Linked DNA regions of Homo sapiens: regions 1 and 3 are each linked to region 2. Evidence: promoter capture Hi-C in human tissues and cell types (Jung and others, 2019). All regions are on one chromosome and are shown on one strand. Each heading gives the region's core, a stretch centred on a gene start or on the middle of the fragment in contact. The rest is flanking DNA. Distances are from core to core; before and after follow the strand shown. Region 1 overlaps GPATCH8 (G-patch domain containing 8). Region 2 holds the start of CCDC43 (coiled-coil domain containing 43). Region 3 holds the start of EFTUD2 (elongation factor Tu GTP binding domain containing 2).

What was found. Contacts are between HindIII fragments. The study calls those that stand out against the background at their distance.
Region 1: a fragment that was not itself captured here is called in contact with the fragment with the promoter of CCDC43 in region 2 in 1 of the 25 tissues and cell types used here (mesendoderm cells).
Region 3: a contact is called between the fragment with the promoter of EFTUD2 here and the fragment with the promoter of CCDC43 in region 2, in 1 of the 25 tissues and cell types used here (hippocampus).

What each region holds. Positions count from the first base shown.
Region 1 is chr17:44,459,418-44,462,117 of GRCh38, reverse strand. All of the region lies in intron 3 of GPATCH8 (G-patch domain containing 8), which reads left to right. Among named protein-coding and RNA genes, the nearest start is that of GPATCH8, 43 kb to the left of the region's middle. The HindIII fragment of the contact is 7,792 bases long and covers 1-2,700 here.
Region 2 is chr17:44,688,353-44,691,052 of GRCh38, reverse strand. It overlaps CCDC43 (coiled-coil domain containing 43), which reads left to right and starts at 1,277. Exons shown (of 5, transcript NM_144609.3): 1 at 1,277-1,503. The coding sequence starts at 1,300. LOC105371792 (a long non-coding RNA gene) reads right to left here. Exons shown (of 4, transcript XR_007065769.1): 4 at 2,040-2,112. LOC124904010 (a long non-coding RNA gene) reads right to left here and starts at 1,272. Exons shown (of 2, transcript XR_007065770.1): 1 at 1,199-1,272; 2 at 743-1,058. RefSeq lists enhancers at 1,147-1,286, 955-1,544. The HindIII fragment of the contact is 3,238 bases long and covers 1-2,700 here.
Region 3 is chr17:44,898,112-44,900,811 of GRCh38, reverse strand. EFTUD2 (elongation factor Tu GTP binding domain containing 2) reads left to right here and starts at 1,367. Exons shown (of 28, transcript NM_004247.4): 1 at 1,367-1,443. It overlaps DNAAF19 (dynein axonemal assembly factor 19), which reads right to left and starts at 1,083. Exons shown (of 4, transcript NM_213607.3): 1 at 953-1,083. The HindIII fragment of the contact is 11,041 bases long and covers 1-1,825 here.

The DNA.
Region 1 (2,700 bases), core at 29-2,528, 230 kb after region 2:
AGAGAGAAAGGAGGGAGAAGAGATAGATAATGTGTTTAAGAAAGGATAGGTAAATGGCTACTCACCTACTTTGGATGATCCAAAGTTATTTTCAATTTTTGTTTTTAAGGAGATTTTAGGCAGGGTGCTGTGGCTTATGCCTGTAACCTCAGCACTTTGGGAGGTTGAGGCAGGAGGATCACCTGAGCCCAGGAGTTTGAGACCAGCCTAGGCAACATAGACCCCATCTCTATCTCCCCCTACACCCCACCCCCCAAAAATTAGTTGGGCTTGGTAGTCCATGCCTGTGGTCCCAGTTAAGAGGTTTAAGGTAGGAGGATTGCCTGAGCCCGGAAGGTTGAGGCTGCAGTGACCCTTGATCGCACCACTACGCTCTAGCCTGGGTGACAGAGTGAGACTCTGTCTCACACACACACGAAAAAAAAACAGTTTAGAATTTTGGTTCCCTTTAAACTTTGAGCTTCTTGAAAAGAGGAGTTAGGTTTTATCCATATTTTGCCTCCATCTCCATGGTAACAAGTATATATAGTAAGTACTCAATAACTCATAAATCTATTCATTTAAAAATTCAAGGGAAATTTAAAGCTCATTTGAAGGTTTTTTTTCTTTTTAATTGTTAAAAAACGGATAACATAGCCGGGTGCAGTGGCTAGCGCCTGAAATCCCAGCACTTTGGGAAGCTGAGGCAGAAGGATTACTTGAGGCCAGGAGTTGAGACCAGCCTGGGCAATATAGCAAGACCCCCATCTCTACAAAAAAAAAAAATTAATTGGCTGGACTTGGTGGCACACACCTATAGTCCCAGCTACTAGGGAGGCTGAGGTGGGAGGATCACTTGAGCCCAGGATTTGAAGGATGCAGTGAACTATGATTGGGCCATTGCACTCCAGCCTGGGTGACAGAGCAAGACCCTCTGTTTAAAATAAATAAATAAATAAAATAAAATTCACCCTTTCCAAAACACATAACATAAAATTTAGCATCTTAATCATTTTTAAGTGTACAGTTGTGTATGTGAAGTATATTTACATTGTTGGTGCAAAGTCCATCTGTTTTAAATGATTAGTATCTTTATTCTCCAAAAAGAATGGAGCCTTATTCTGTTTCCAACATTAAGAATTGAGTTTGTTTCATAACTGACTGTTTACTTCCTAGTGTCGGATTCAGCAGTGTACATGCAGGCATTGTGCTGGTTTCTCTCACATACCTCTTTCTATAGTACCCACATAATTTAACCTAGAATATATCCACATTTATTGCATATTGAGGCAATTTATGACAGATTTCTTTGACCATACTAAACCTTTGATATAAATAACCATTCAAAAAAGCCCTGTCACTCTAGTGTAAACAGTAGGCATCGCATGTGATTTCTGGGCTTATGCTTTTGTAAGTTCTTCACATTGACTAGTTCATTGTCAACTTTCCTTTTGATTTGAGTTTAGGACTCTTAACATATCTCACATGCAACCATCCACTAAAATTTTAAGCCTGGTCCTTTTGGGCTTTTTTGTCAAAGCTTTAAAAATTATTTTGACCCATGCAAGGCTTTTGCCAACAAAAGTTGCAGTTCTTGGTGCTCCAGTGCTGATGTCTTGTTACTGAATAGATTGGAGAATAGGGCATGCAGACTCTGGAATGAAGTTATCTGTGGCAGGATATTAAATTGTACTTTGTAAACTGAGTTTATTTTTGTACCCATTTTCTTATTCACATTTCATTCTCCTTTAGTATTTGTTAAAATATTTCAGAAATTTTAAAAAAGTTATTATATATGGCCGATAATTATTAGTATTAAAAAATAAAAGACCTGAAGAAAAGATAATGTTGACAAGATATCTGAAGGAAACAACACAAAAAAAGCACTACTGATGAGAAATATTATGAACAATTGTTTATTATAGAAACAGAGGATATGTTTAATTCAGAATAAAGCAAGAGTGAATGATAGTTGTATTTTGTAGCATTTAGACTGGATTCAGTTCTGGAAATTGTTTTATAACCTTTTGTCAGCTTTGAAATGGAATGTAGTTCAAAATTTTTATTTTTCTGTGAAATACATTTAGTCAATAGGTGTAGCCCAGAAATGGTGCCTGAAGTTTCTTTGTTACATTGTGTAAGTACTATTTGATGATTTGGCTGATTCTTTGGTGACAGACAAAAGTTTAGCTCCTAGGAAAAATGAATGGGGTCTGATATTATTTCCTATCTCACCCTGTTTAGAAGGTTCGATGAGTACATTTAGACAACCAACACATATTTACTGACCTAACACTACATTCTTGTTATACCAGCAGTAAATACCCTAAGACATGGAGAGTAGATAAGACATGGTTCCTGACTTTCAGGTTTATTTCCCAGTCCCTCAAGTCTTGCTTTTTTTTTTAACTGCTGTAGACCTTTGAAGTTTCCTTGAAGCCAAGGATGATGTTTTCTACTTTTGTGCACTCCTTTCATACTTAAATTAAGTATGTGATCAGTCTGAATATTTAATTAAAAAATTGTTTCAACCCCCTTGTGAGTAGGAAGTCTCACTAATTTTTGTGTAAAAGTACTTGGTGCAGGGTGTAATGGCAGTTTGTTAACATTTGGAAATAAAAGATCTGGGTTTGATTTTGGCACTACCATTTCCTATAAGTGAAGGGACAAGGTACCATTACTGAATTATTTTCCTCAGCAATAAATGGATATTAAAATCTC
Region 2 (2,700 bases), core at 28-2,527:
ATGGAGTCTCACTGTCGCTCAGGCTGGAGTGCAGCGGCGCGATCTTGGCTCACTGCAACCTCCGCCTTCCGGGTTCCAGCGATTCTGAGTAGCTGGGATTACAGGCCCGCGCCACCACACCTGGCTTTTGTTGTTGTTGTTGTTTGTTTTGAGACGGAATTTCGCTCTTGTTGCCCAGGCTGGAGTGCAATGGCACGATCTCTGCTCACCGCAACCTCCGCCTCCTGGGTTCAAGCGATTCTCCTGCCTCAGCCTCCCACGTAGCTGGGATTACAGGCATGTCCCACCACGCCCGGCTAATTTTGTATTTTTAGTAGAGACGGGGGTTCTCCATTTTGGTCAGGCTAGTCTCGAACTCCAGACCTCAGGTGAGCTGCCCACTTTGGCCTTCCAAAGTGCTGGGATTACGGGAGTGAGCCACCGTGCCCGGCCTTATTTTTGTATTTTTACTAGAGACGGGGTTTCACCATGTCGGCCAGGCTGGTCTCGAACTCCTGACCTCAGGTGATCCACCCGCCTCGGCTTCCCAAACTGTTGGGATTACAGGCGTGAGACATGGCGCCCGGCCTGTCTCCTTATCTTTAAAATGTGGACAATAAAAGCATCTCCCCACAGGGCTGTAGGGAGGATTACAAGAGATAATGCATGAAAAGCTTTTGGCACAGTGCCTAGCAGAGGGTGGGGTACGCTTCTCAAAGAATAGTCCCGTGCACGCGTTGAATCAATGAGTGGAAGAAATAACTTGAGGTTGCCTGTTTATTTACTGAGTGCCTACCATGGAATCAGGGAAGGTTTTCTGCAACCTTTACTTTGACAGGGAAGGGCTTGTACAGGTGAAGGTGGTAGCCGTCGGTAGCGACGACGAGGGTATTCCAGGCTGTCAGGAGGTTCTTGCCAGACAGCTGTGTGGGAGTGGGCGGCCAGCATCCCCCGAAAGCGCGGGGAAGGCAGCTCGGTCGGGTGGAGGAAGCGATGGCATCCACGCTGAGCTCCAGTCCTGGGTAGTTATTAGCCGCGTGACTTTGGCCAAATTACTGCACCTCTCTCAACTTCCCGAACTGTAGAATGAGTCTGTTAAGAATACTCACATGCCAAGCATCTTGTGAGATCACGCGACCGCACGTATGCGAAGACGCGCTTCATCTAGAAAGCACAAAACTCTCAAGCCGGCCGACACGGCTGCGCTCTTTGCACTTACGGGCCTGGGCTTCCTCTTCAGGCATGCGCGGTGGACCTGCGGCGCGGCCCGTCAGGCACTGCGGTAGGCGCCCTAGGGGCTTGCAGGACCCTGACCCCAAGATGGCGGCGCCCAGCGAAGTGGCCGCGATAGCCCCTGGCGAAGGCGATGGCGGAGGCGGCGGCTTTGGCTCCTGGCTGGACGGACGGTTGGAGGCACTGGGAGTGGACCGAGCCGTTTATGGAGCCTACATCTTGGGTATCCTGCAGGAGGAGGAGGAAGAAGAGAAGCTGGACGCTCTGCAGGGGATCCTCTCTGCTTTCCTGGTGAGTAGCCTGGACACATTCCTTCAGCCTCTGGCCAGCATCTGAGGACCTGTCAGTACTTTGCACCCTCCCTCCCCTACCGGGTATCCCAGAGGCTCAGTGGTCTCACCTGGGAGAGGTATACTCCTCTGATATCTGGGCGGCGGGGGAAGGAGGTTGCTCCCCAACCAGGTGTGGGAAGCCTGAAAGCTGCAGGTACACAGAGAGGAAGGGCTTTCTCGTATTCTTGGGGACAAGGCCCTCTCCGATGCTTGTGAGTGAGCCGAGGAGGGTTCTTCCGAAGGCATTGAAATGTCAGAATGGGAATGTTATCATAAATATCTGACGACCAATTCCATTTCCATCCGTTTACAGTGTTCACTGGGGGTATTAAAATGCTCTTGGGAGGTCTGTGCCTATTACAAGGCAGTTCCCAGGGCTGTCCCATGACAGAAGCCTGCAGGAAGTGCCCTTTTGATTCTTATATGGATGTAGGAGTCCATAAAAGGTAAGCTGGTGGTAGAAGTCTTTTCATGCCCACGCAGAACTGAAGCAAACGTCGTGCTTGATCCATTACAGTATTTACAGTAATCATTGGTGGTGGGAAGGAGGGTATGAGAGAGATCAGAGCTTTAACGAAGAGAGAGAAACTTAGTCCTTAGCCTGTTAGAAGCAAGGTATTCAGAAATGTGTACTTTAAGCTATGTTTACATAGTAAGTCACCCAGATGTCCACTTTTTCAACCTGATCATTTCTGCTGCCTTCATCTTCACTTCCCACACCTCCAACATACACACTTATTAGACTGGTTATTACAGATTAAATTGGTTGTAGGTGCTACCTGTGGCTGTCTAACAAATTGTTTCCTTTTAAATACAAGCTTAAAAATAAAATTTACTTGAATCATCACTAAATGCTGTAGAAGCTAGAGTTGTCTCTGCATTCATGGATTAGAGGAGATCCTGGATACCTGATTGCTACTGTGAGAGCCACCTGTCTGTCCATCAAAGGCTTTATCCTCTGGCATTTATTACAATGGACAGGTTAGAAAAATGGGTTCTTTGTTATTCTCAAAACCAATTTTGAAAGGCTAGTAATAGAATCAAAATGTACCATGAGGTGGGGCACAGTGGCTCATGTTTGTAATCTCACCACTTTGGGAGGCTGAGGTGGGAGGATTGCTTGAGGCCAAGAGTTCCACACCACACTGGGCAACAT
Region 3 (2,700 bases), core at 118-2,617, 210 kb before region 2:
CAGTGAGGACTTACACAAGACTTGTCCCTGAAAATAGAATACAGAGTCCTGACTTTCAATTTGGAGTTCTGTCTTAATTTTGCTCTTTGCCTCTAAAAATATTTTTAATTTTGGTGCTTCAGTCGAGGAGGCATTGGGATCTCAGAATTCAGTTTCTTCACTCTTCCCCCATAGGATTGTTCTACAGCAAGTCGTTTCGACAGGGGACCTCACACAAAGGCAGAACTCTTGTTAGTTACCCTTGAGCTCGGGGATAAAGTTTCATTCTTCATTGAATGTCTTTAATGAGGAAGGAGACTTTCACCCAAACCAGATGCAATGACTGAGCAGGAAATCAAGTAGAAGGGGCAAAGGAAGGAGCTCAATGACCCCATCCCCAAATCCCTCTGTCCAGCCCAGGGCTGGAACAGAGGTCCCTAGGTACCTGGGCAATGCCTTTAGTTCTATCACTGTACTTCTGTAGTTTCTGCATATCTGAGGCTGACTGATCATTTCTACAGAGATATTCTTTTCTTTTTTTTTTTTTCTGGCTCTGTTGCCCAGGCTGGAGTGCAGTGGCGCGATCTTGGCTCATTGCAACCTCTGCCTCCGGGGTTCAAGCAATTTTCGATCCTGACCTCAAGTAATCCGCGCGCCTCGGCCTCCCAAAGTGCTGGGATTACAGGCGTGAGCCACTGCAGAGAGATTCTCTACGTGGGTTCTAGTCGTGGCTCTGGCATTTACTTGTGGGACCTCTCTGAACTGCAAACTCCTAGTGAGTTGAGCTAGATTTTGTGGCGGGGTCATCACCAACAGCCCTAGCGCAAGGAAGCAGGAAGTCCCCAACCAATCCCATAGCCACCCTACCCCAACGTAGGGAATCTGAACGCCAAGAAGGGGCTGGGGTGGCCAGTAACCGAAATCAGGTGTCCAGTTCTCAGCCCTCCCCAGGCATTTAATACATAGAACTAACCCTTCCGTCCCCTTACTCAGCCTCCCGGACCTTCACCCCAGCAGTCCCGGCCTTGGTCCCCTTGCTTTCTTTGGGGATCCCCTGATAAACCAGAACAGGAGGGCAACCCCGCGCAGACCACGCCCGCAGCTGTGGTTGCCTAGCAACTGCGCTAACAGCCTGACCACGTGATCTGCCCGAAGGCCCCTCCCCCCATTTTCAGGGTGGTCCCGAGGCGCCTGATCAGATTCGTTCATCCTCAGCTCTCACCCTCTTTGGAGCAGCCCACGTCTTGGGCTACTCGTCTTGGGGACCCGCTACTCCGCCTTGCCAGTCCGCGGCGGGCATACCTCGGAACTGGTCCTCAGGCAGAGGGTTGTCCTCCCGGGCAGAAAGGCGACAGCGGCGTCTGCGGGGTCCTTCCTGGCGGCGGGCGCAGGCGTTTCCTCGGCGTGGGGCGGAAGCACGATCTCCGGCAGCGGCCTGGGAACTCTTAGCTGAGCAGGCGAGAGGTAAGTTGAAGCGGGTCAGCGGCACGGAAGGGTTGCTCCAGGTGGGATAGGAAATTAAAAAGCGTCAGATCTGGAAGGGGCCTTATATGCTATTGGCCCCTTTCGCTTTACGGATCGGTAAATTGAGGCCTGGAGCGGGAAAAAGAATGGAAGACCCTGTCGTCCTCGTGCCTTCCCAAGGCTTCCGAAGCGCGCACACACGCACACACCTCGATTTCGGGGCTGCCTCTATAGCCTCAGTCCGTAAAATCGTATCGCTAGGTAGGAGTGGTGCTCTAACTGTCCAGTCCCCTCGCTCACTTCCTCTTCTATCCGTGCCGCTTTCAGCCGTTCTTTGCCAAGTTCCCTCCGAAGTCCTCTGAGCTCCTGCATTGTAGCGGGAAGCGGCAGTGAGGTTTGTTACCATGAGTCGCTAGTTTTGTGTAACTGTGGGCAAATCAGCTATATTCTGTGTACCTTGTTAGAGTCATTCATTAGTTCAGTAAATACTTATTGAGGGCTTAGTCTATGCTAGGCACAGTACTAAGTGAACAAAGTCTTTGCTTCAATTGTAGTTGGGGAAATGAACAGTAAACAACTAGATACAAGTCAGCTAGTGATAAATGTATAACATTTGTGAATAGCAATAAAACAGTGAAAGTGGGAAGTTGGAGAGTATGTATGGGGGACTTTTTAGAGTGACAGAGAAGATGACATTTTAGTGGAGACTTGATTGAAATAAAGGAACAAGGTGAAAAATATCAAAGGGGAGAGCGTTTTGGACAAAGAGAAAGGCAAGTGCAGTGGCCCTGAGGCAGAAATGAGCTTGGCTTGTTCCATGAACAGCTTTCTATAACAGTTTCTTCAATCGGCCGGGCGCGGTGGCTCACGCCTGTAATCCCAGCACTTTGGGAGAAAGACGCGGGCGGATCACCTGAGGTCAGGAGTTCGAGACCAGCCTGGCCAACATGGTGAAAACCCATCTCTACTAAGAATACAAAAAAATTAGCCAGGCGTAGTGGTGCACTCCTGTAGTCCCAACTACTCGGGAGGCTGAGGCAGGAGAATCGCTTGAAACCAGGAGGCGGAGGTTGCAGTGAACTGAGATCGTGCCGTTGTACTCCAGCCTGGGCAACAAGAGCAAAACTCTGTCTCAAAAAATATATATAAAATAAATAAATAATTTCTTCAATCCCTTGACTGGGGTCTTGGGAGAATGAGATAAGCATAAATGCGATAGTAGCTTTTTAGAAGTAAAAAGAATATGCATGTGAAAGT